Regions from separate parts of the Homo sapiens genome. Here region 1 is linked to region 2. The links are contacts of gene promoters, found by promoter capture Hi-C in human tissues and cell types (Jung and others, 2019). All regions are on one chromosome and are shown on one strand. The core of a region is centred on a gene start or on the middle of the fragment in contact, and the rest is flanking DNA. Distances in the headings are between cores, read along the strand shown. Region 1 overlaps MAP3K3 (mitogen-activated protein kinase kinase kinase 3). Region 2 holds the start of STRADA (STE20 related adaptor alpha).

The links. The method cuts DNA at HindIII sites, captures the fragments that hold promoters and counts their contacts. A contact is called where the count stands out against the background at its distance.
Region 1: a contact is called between a fragment that was not itself captured here and the fragment with the promoter of STRADA in region 2, in 3 of the 25 tissues and cell types used here (dorsolateral prefrontal cortex, mesenchymal stem cells and thymus).

What each region holds. Positions count from the first base shown.
Region 1 is chr17:63,629,143-63,633,632 of GRCh38, forward strand. MAP3K3 (mitogen-activated protein kinase kinase kinase 3) reads left to right here. Exons shown (of 16, transcript NM_002401.5): 2 at 3,539-3,660. Among named protein-coding and RNA genes, the nearest start is that of MAP3K3, 9.0 kb to the left of the region's middle. The HindIII fragment of the contact is 6,236 bases long and covers 1-4,490 here.
Region 2 is chr17:63,740,175-63,744,631 of GRCh38, forward strand. STRADA (STE20 related adaptor alpha) reads right to left here and starts at 1,625. Exons shown (of 13, transcript NM_001003787.4): 1 at 1,567-1,625. RefSeq lists an enhancer at 1-250 and silencers at 116-284, 1,788-1,907. The HindIII fragment of the contact is 12,282 bases long and covers 1-4,457 here.

The sequences.
Region 1 (4,490 bases), core at 1,710-4,209, 110 kb before region 2:
AGATGGAGTCTCGCCCTGTCGCCATGCTGGAGTTCAGTAGCGCTATCTCAGCTCACACCAACCTCCGCCTCCTGTGTTCAGGCAATTCTCCTGCCTCAGCCTCCCAAGTAGCTGGGATTACAGGCGCACACCACCACGCGCAGTTAATTTTTTTGTATTTTTAGTAGAGACGGGGTTTCACCATGTTGGCCAGGCTGGTTTCGAACTCCTGACCTCAAGTGATCCACGCATCTTGGCCTCCCAAAGTGCTAGAATTACAGGCGTGAGCCTCTGCGCCCAGCCTGTTATTTGTTTTTAAAAGTTTTGTTTGTTTTTAAAGAATGCCACATTGGAGGAGTGCTGATAATTCAGTTAGTCTCAGTCCATACCACAGAGATAACTGGCTTGTGGCAGCCAAGTGTGCATAGTGATGTTGCTTTTTAGAAGGAAAAAAAACAAAAACAAAACCTCAATCCAGGAAGAAATGCCTAAAAGAGCCACTTGATTTACTTCCTGTCTTTATACATGTCCTCTGAAGTATCAGTTGAAGAACCTGTCTACCTCTAGGAATGTATTTTACTTTGACACAAAATTAGATTCTATAACCCTGATTCACTTGTGTCAGTTGTCCCAGATTTCAGATGACAGTGCCAAACTTTTCCACTAGTGTGTTCTCAGCTCTGGAACTACTAAACAAGTTTGTTCATTAAGTAATGCCAGGAATTGGTTAGCTTCCTGGAAACAGAATTTGTCAACCTGATAAACCAGCTCTTATAATAGCGTCATCTTATACAGAATTAGAAATGATTTCTTCAGTCATACTTGTGGATCTGACTTGAAAAGTGGTGTGTGTATGTGTGTGCCTGTATGTGTATTCACATCCATCTTTGTTCAATATCTGAGTTGAAAGAACTGAAAATTCTCAATACTTAGGGTGGTTAATGTTGTTACTGATAACTCCTTGCATTCCGCTTTTAGGAGTATTGTTGGATGCTCCTCAGAAAACACTTAAACCTAGTCATAATCCTCCTTGTATTGATCCCAATTTATTATTACAGTTGGCCCAATTTTATATATATTTAATAATATCTAAGCCATTTAATATATAAACCTATACATATTATATATAAGCCAATCTTCCTAGCTTAGATGTTATGCTCTAGTTTTTAAAGTTTGGTTGTGAGGATAAAAATCAAAACAAAAAACCAAGTTCCCTTTTTGTTTTTGGGACAGGGTCTCACTGTCGCCCAGGCTGAAGTACAGTGGCATGATCATGGCTCACTGCAGCCTCAACCTCCTGGGCTCAAGTGATCCTTCCACCTAAGCCTCTCAAGTAGCTGAGCCTACAGCGTGCACCACCATGCCCAGCTAATTTTTTGTATTTTTTGTAGAATGTAGTTTTGCCATGTTGCCCAGTCTGGTCTCGAACTCCTGGGCTCAAGCAATCCACCTGCCTCAGCCTCCCAAAGTGCTGGGATTACAGGCATGAGCCACCCTGTCCAGCCAGGTTCCCTTCTTTAAAGAAGCTATAGGGAAATTGTAGAAGGTATAAAATAATTGATGGGATATATATGTGTTAATTTGACAGATGTCTTTTTGTAGATACCCACTTTCTCCTCATTCATTATCCCCTTTACTGCATGCTTTCTATATTACAGCTATGTCACTCTCATACATACTTTTGTATATGTTTTGAAGTGGAATCATATGGGAAGTTATGCTCCTGGTGGTTTTCCTGCAAGTTTTAAATCTAATTTTACTTTCCTGAACAAGCAAAAACCTCTTTATAGGCAACTTTGTCCTTTTCTGTACCTCGTCAGAGGGCATATAGGGCACCAGAGCAGATTTCGTCTAGGAAGAGGGGAGAGGCAAATAAGGTGAGGGGCCAGGCACGGTGGCTTATGTCTGTAATCCCAGCATTTTGGGAGGCTAAGGAGGGAGGATCGCTTGAGCTCAGGTGTTTGAAATCAGCCTGGGCAACATGGTGAAACCCTCGCTCAATAAAAAATACAAAAATTAGCAGGGCATGGTGGTGTGCACCTGTAGTCCCAGCTACTCTGGAGGCTGAGGTGGAGGATTGTTTGAGCCTGGGGGTGGAGGAGGCTGCAGTGAGCTGTGATTGCACCACTGCACTCTAGCCTGGGCAACAGAGTGAAACCCTGTTTCAGTCAGTCAGTCAATCAGTTAATCAGTAGTGGGAGAAGAGACTTGAGCAGTTTTACTTCCTACATTTCATGCTGTTCGTTTCTTTCCACAGGGTATTAGAATATTTCCAAGGGACAGTGATAAAGGGTAGAAGATAGGCACTCTCTTTGGGTGGAATCTTTTGTATTTGCTTCTTTTAAGGTGTGCCCCAAGTCCCCAAATGGCTCAGTTGTCACCAAAGCAAGTGTAACAACTCATCCCTCATGTTCCCTTCACGATCAACAGATTTATTCATTTTCAATCTCCAAATGCTATTTGAATGGGCAAAGATCTCTTAAAGGACCTGGGAAAAATTTGTACAACATGGAATTGGACTGGTTTGTGTTCTGGGTTTTGGCCAGTTGTTTTCAATGTATGAGAACTCTAGTACTCCATGCTATTTCAAGAAAAGGGGATTAAAAGTAATGCCAGTAAGGTGGAGACAATGCATTGCTTGGTCAGCTTAGGGAGGAAAAACAATAGAACTACCCTTTGACTTCCCCATGGGAAGTAGTAGGCCTATAAACTTGTAAAGAGTTGTGGGGGTTGCTGGTGGTGGCGGCATTCAAATGCTAGGCTTGTAAAACAACTTCTGTTCAAAGCAGTTACCTGAGGCCCTTATTTGGTACCTTTTAAAGTGTGCTCTCCTCCTTATGATGCTTTAAGAATAAGTCTGGGACTGACACTGTGCCATAATCCTCTCTCTATGGATTCATCTTTTCATTCAGTACCATATTACATTGTACTGTGTTCTTCACTTCAATTTTTCATCTATTTTTCCTGGTTAAGTTTCTCTGGCACTGGACCAACTGCCCTGTTTGAGCGTGTCCCTTCCCTGCAATGAATTGGTAAATATTGCTGCAGGAAATCTGATTGGAGGGCTATTAAGAAACCATTAAAGGCCAGGCATGGTGGCCCACACCTGTATGTAATCTTAGCACTTTGGGAGGCCGAGGCAGGAGGATCACTGGAGTCCAGGAGTTGGAGACCAGCCTGGGCAACATGGGGAGACCCCGTCTCTACAAAAAATAAAAAAATCATCCAGGCATGGTGGTGCATGCCTGTGTTCCCAGCTACTCAGGAGGCTGATGTGGGAAGGTCACTTGAGCCCCAGAGTTGGAGGCTGCAGTGAGCTATGATCACGCCACTGCACTCCAGCCTGAGTGACAGAGCAAGACCTTGTCTCGAAGAAAAAAAAGAATCCATTAAAATTCAAATTGCCATAGTCTGACCTTTTGGGCTGCATCTGATTATAGTTACAGGGTCTGTCATTTTACCTGGGCAGAACTCCCTGAGTATTAGTTATACAGTTTGTGAAAGAGCTTTGCTGGTCTGTATTTAAGTGTCTTAGTCCATGTGCTCTCTTTCATTGCAGACGAACAGGAGGCATTGAACTCAATCATGAACGATCTGGTGGCCCTCCAGATGAACCGACGTCACCGGATGCCTGGATATGAGACCATGAAGAACAAAGACACAGGTCACTCAAATAGGCAGGTGTGTGTGACCCTGGCAGAGCTAAGTGAGATTTGTTGGGGAGGGGTTTTCAAATGGGAAATATACGAAAAGCCAAGGAGACTACATTACCAGGGTTGAATGCTTTTGACCCCTTCCTTTCACAGTCTGTTAAATGGGAAGTAATACATACCAACCAGGTATGGTTAAATGGTAAGTGATATTGGGAGGCCGAGGCAGGCGGATCACCTGAAGTCAGTAGTTTGAGACCAGCCTGGCCAACATGGTGAAACCCTGTCCCTACTAAAAAACACAAAATTAGCCAGGTGTGGTGGTCCATGCCTGTAGTCCCAGCTACTCAGGAAGCTGAGACAGGAGAATCGCTTGAACCTGGAAGGCAAAGGCTGCAGTGAGCCGAGATAGCACCACTGCACTCCAGCCTGGGCAAGACAGAGTGAAACTCTGTCTCAAAAAAAAAAAAAAAGTTATATATGCCATGCAGTTATGGATCTATGATTTGGAGTCTTAAAGCCTTGTGTAAGCATTTCATCTGTTATGGGGACAGTATTCATATTCGTTTTTCCCCTTTACTGATATTTGGCAAATATTTAATTCAGATTCATGATCCCTAAGTCAGAAGGTTTTTAGCTACCTTACAGTATATAGTCAGGAAAAACTAATTAATTTGGTATTAGCTTATGTAAAATATAATTAAGAAGGTAAATTTATTAATTAAAATGTCACCTAGTATATTCTGAAGGCAATAATGAGTGATTTTGTTATTACTGTTTACAGTTATTTTACCTTATTAACCTTATTGATAGTGCCTGTTTTATTGAGAGTTGTATGCTTCTTTAGGAAAACATTGCCTA
Region 2 (4,457 bases), core at 375-2,874:
CACACACACAACAAAGCAATATTACTAGTGGACAGACATAGAAATAGCTTTATTGGCCGGGCGCGGTGGCTCACGCCTGTAATCCCAGCACTTTGGGAGGTCGAGGCTGGTGGATCACCTGAGGTCAGGACCTCAGAGATCGGCCTGACCAACATGGTGAAACCCCGTCTCTACTGAAAATACAAAAATTAACCAGGTGTGGTGGGGGGTGCCTGTAATGCCAGCTACTCGGAAGGCTGAGGCAGGATAACTGCTTGTACCAAGGAGGCCGAGGTTGCAGTGAGCGGAGATCGCGCCATTGCATTCCAGCCTGGGGGACGAGGGCGAAACTCCATCTCAAAAAAATTAAAATAAAAATAAAGAGAGAAAATAATAAACCCAGCAAACATTTATGGCAAACTTCCTACGTGTCAGGCACTGTGCTAAATGCTTCATGAGCAGCTCACAAGTATTATCATCTCTGTTTTACGGATCAGGAAATTCAGGTGTGCAGGGAGGTTAAATGCCCAAAGTCACACAGATAAGTGGTAGGGGACTAATTAAATCTGTTCCAAAGCCTGCGCTCTAAAAACCAGAGTAAACTTCCTCCATTTCTGGGGCCACAACTATAAACACTGCATTCCAGCCAAAACACCTCTAAGAAATCTGATTAAAAAGTAGGGGACAGATTTGACCAGTTCAGCACTGTAACTAAAGGCTGAATTCACAGGCTTTTGGCAGGTGATCAAATTTGGTTTCTTCCTTAACTCTCAGGGACAAGAAACAGTCCTGGGTGTCTTCAGGAAGGTATGAGTGTCAATGAAGAATTGTCTTAACGTCGCATATACGTATTGGAACATGCTTCTACTTGAACAGATATTACAATAAGAAAAGGGCAAATTCCAACGGCTCTTTCTCCGGGAAAGTCAAGTTAAAGTATGTTAGGATACAGGAGAAGGCTGGGCAGAGAGGTTAGTTCCCTATTTCCTGAGAACTATGAACAATTTTACCTACCCACTGCCCCTCCCTCGAGCTCTCTTCCTTATCCCCAACCCCCATCTCCGGCGCCCAAATCCCCTGCAGGCACCCAAAAAACATTTCTGGAAAACAAAAAGACAATGAGCTCTTCGTTTAGGCCGATTCTGGGAGTCATCTGGATCTTGTGTCCTTACGAGGACTTGACCCGCTGCCTGTCAGCCCAAAGTGCGCGGCGGCTGGGGACAGCGGGGAGCCCAGGACCGGGGTCGGCCGCCACTCTGCCTGAACAGGACAAACCGGCACCCAGCCCTAGGTTCCCCACCTGGAAGTCCTAGGGGGTGGGGAGGAAGGGGAAAGCAGGAGCCCGCCTCTCTCGCCCGGCAACTCCGCTTCAGCGTCTCCCCGCCAGGCCCAAGCCTATTCTGCTCTCGGGCTGCGGCGCCTCATTGCGGGAGTCGAGGACGCGGGTTAAAAAGGGGGCCCGTGGAGGGTGAGGTGAGCCCAGGATGGCCGCTCCGACGAAGGCCCGGGCCTGGGGAGATGGAATCGGTGGCAGAGCCAGGAGGGACTGGCCCCGGCAGCGTACCAGGCACCCCGCCAGGCAGGTACCTGTTCCTGGAGTTAGCAAGCAGCCCCGACCGTCTTGGCTCCGCCTCCTCAGTTTTACTGCCGCGCCGCCGCCAGACCGGTTGCTGGGAGGGGAGTACGCAACGTGCCATGCGCAGTGGGGCGACCGGGAGGACTGATAGAGCGCTCCGCCCCACCCCGCCCTGCGGGGAAGTCCCGCCCTTTCCGAGTGGCCGCGGCTGCGGCAGGCCCTAGCAGCCGCCGCCGCGCCGAGAGCGGTTCTCAGTTCCCGTTGTCTTTCCCGCCGCGCAGCGCTTCCGCCTACAGCCTCCGCCCCCGCAGCAGGAGGGGGAAGCAGGTGGCTTCAACAATGAAGGACCAGAGAAAGGCAAACTTGGCTGTTCCTGAGAATTGTGTTTTTCTCATTTCATGTGGTAGGACTTCTAATGGAAAACCCGCCTCGCACTTTTCTTGGACGACATCTCAAATGCCCCTCACTTTGGCCTCTCGGGCACCAGACAACAAGCTGCAAAGGGGAAGCCCATCCTTTCTTTGCTCCCCACTATTTGTAAAACAAGGAAAATAGCTCAACTAATGAAAACGATCTTGTCCCCTCAGTATCTTTTTTTTTCCCCCGAAGCCTTCCTCATCCACAGCTGAAGCCGTTTGTGGAAACCTATCAGGTTTGTCCAAGCCAGGTTATGCAGAGCTTGAGAAATGAGGAAGCGATGAACTAAGCCTCACTCCTGTGAGACTAGGTTTTTCAGTGACTTATCCCCCGCGTGCGCAGGAGGGGGTATCCAAAACGCGGATATATACCATCAGGTAATGAACACTCGCTCTTGCCAGCTCTGAGCTTTGACACAGATTTAGACCGTCCTAACTTCCAAGACTGGGGGAGGAGTTTAGCTACATCCAAGTAGGGACTTATAGAAATATGCCCCTGGAAGGCCGGGCGCGGTGGCTCACGCCTGTAATCCCAGCACTTTGGGAGGCCGACGCGGGTGGTTCACTAGGTCAGGAGATCGAGACCATCCTGGTTAATACGGCGAAACCCCGTCTCTACTAAAAGTACAAAAAAATTAGCCGGGCGTGGTGACAGGCGCCCGTAATCCCAGCTACTATGGAGGCTGAGGCAGCAGAATGGCCTGAACCCGGGAGGCGGAGCTTGCAGTGTGCAGAGATCGCGTCACTGCACTTCCAGCCTGGGCGACAGAGCGAGACTCCGTCTCAAAAAAAAAAAAAAAAAAAAAGAAAAAAAGAAATATGCCCCTGAAACTGTGGGACCTGTATGCACATGAGTTCTCATTTGATCTTACATACATCACTTTGATTTTTTTTTTTTTTTTTTTTGAGATGGAGTCTTGCTCTGTTGCCCAGGCTGGAATGCAGTGACGTGATCTGGGCTCACTGCAACCTCTGCCTCCTGGGCTCAAGCAATTCTCCTGACTCAGCCTCCCAAGTCGCTGGGACTACAGGCGCACGCCACAACGCCTGGCTGATTTTTGTATTTTTAGTAGAGACGAGGTTTCACCATATTGGTCAGGCTGGTCTTAAAATCCTGACCTCAGGTGATCCACCAGCCTCGGCCTCCCAAAGTGCTGGGATTACAGGTGTGAGCCATCTGTGCTGGGCCACATCATTTTGATTTTATCGAGTGCTTTGACATTGCTAAGGGCTACCCTCACATGCTCTCATTCTCAAAATAAGATGCCACTCTCAGGAGCAAACTTGGTAAACTCACAAAGCAACAGAGTATAAACAGAGAAGTAAAATTTCTAGCAGTGTTCTACTGAAGGGTCTTTCACATGTGGTCTTTTGGAACCGAGTATTAGAGAGACTGTCTGAAAAGATGCTAAACTTCTTGCAGCCATTACAAATGGGTAGAGAAAACATATTGTCTCAGAACTGTTCTGTTTTAGCAGTCTGTAACAGAAGACACTCCTATGGGTATAACTCTTTTTTTTTTTTTTTTTTTGAGACGGAAGTCTTGCTCTATTGCCCAGGCTGGAGTGCAGTGGTGCAATCTTGGTTCACTGCAACCTCTGCCTCCTGGGTTCAAGCGATTCTCCTGCCTCAGCCTCCTGAGTAGCTAGGATTACAGGTTTGTGCCACCGCACCCGGTTAATTTTTGTATTTTTAGTAGAGACGGGGATTTGCCATATTGGCCAGGCTGGTCTTGAACTCCTGACCTCATGTGATCTGCCTGCCTCGGCCTCCCAAAGTGCTGGGATTACAGGCATGAGCCACCGCGCCCGGCCTCTTGTCTCTCTTACATCGTTTCACATCATTCAAAATGAGAGGAGGCAGGAATGGTAAGGAATGAGAACCTGGGATGATAAAGCACAGTGTTTCACCTCTTCCTGCCAAATCCACTGGATTCTTGTACAACACAATTCTAAACAATTCCTACTGAATTGCCAATTCCTACTGAATGGGTGGAATAAGAAATCAATGTTTTTCTTTGGTCTAAATTCCATCTAAAGAAAGGAGTTAGGGCCAGGCGCACTGGCTCACGCCTGTAATCCCAACACTTTGGGAGGCCGAGGTGGGTGGATCACGAGGTCAGGAGATCGAGACCATCCTGGCTAACACAGTGAAATCCCATCTCTACTAAAAATATAAAAAATTAGCAGGGCGTGGTAGCACACATCTGTAGTCCCAGCTACTCTGGAGGCTGAGGTAGGAGAATTGCTTGAACTTGGGAGATGGAGGTTGCAGTGAGCCGAAATTGCACCACTGCACTCCAGCCTGGGCAACACAGTGAGACTCCATCTCAAAAACAAAAAAAAGAGGAGTTTCACATCTGGTCTTTACAGGAAAAGGTTTGCTACTACTAAGGAAACAGAATCATAAGCTACTCCCCTCTTCCTCAAAAAATACCCTATCAATTTTTGCAGATAAAGAACTCTGAAAGGATCTGCTTGGTTTCC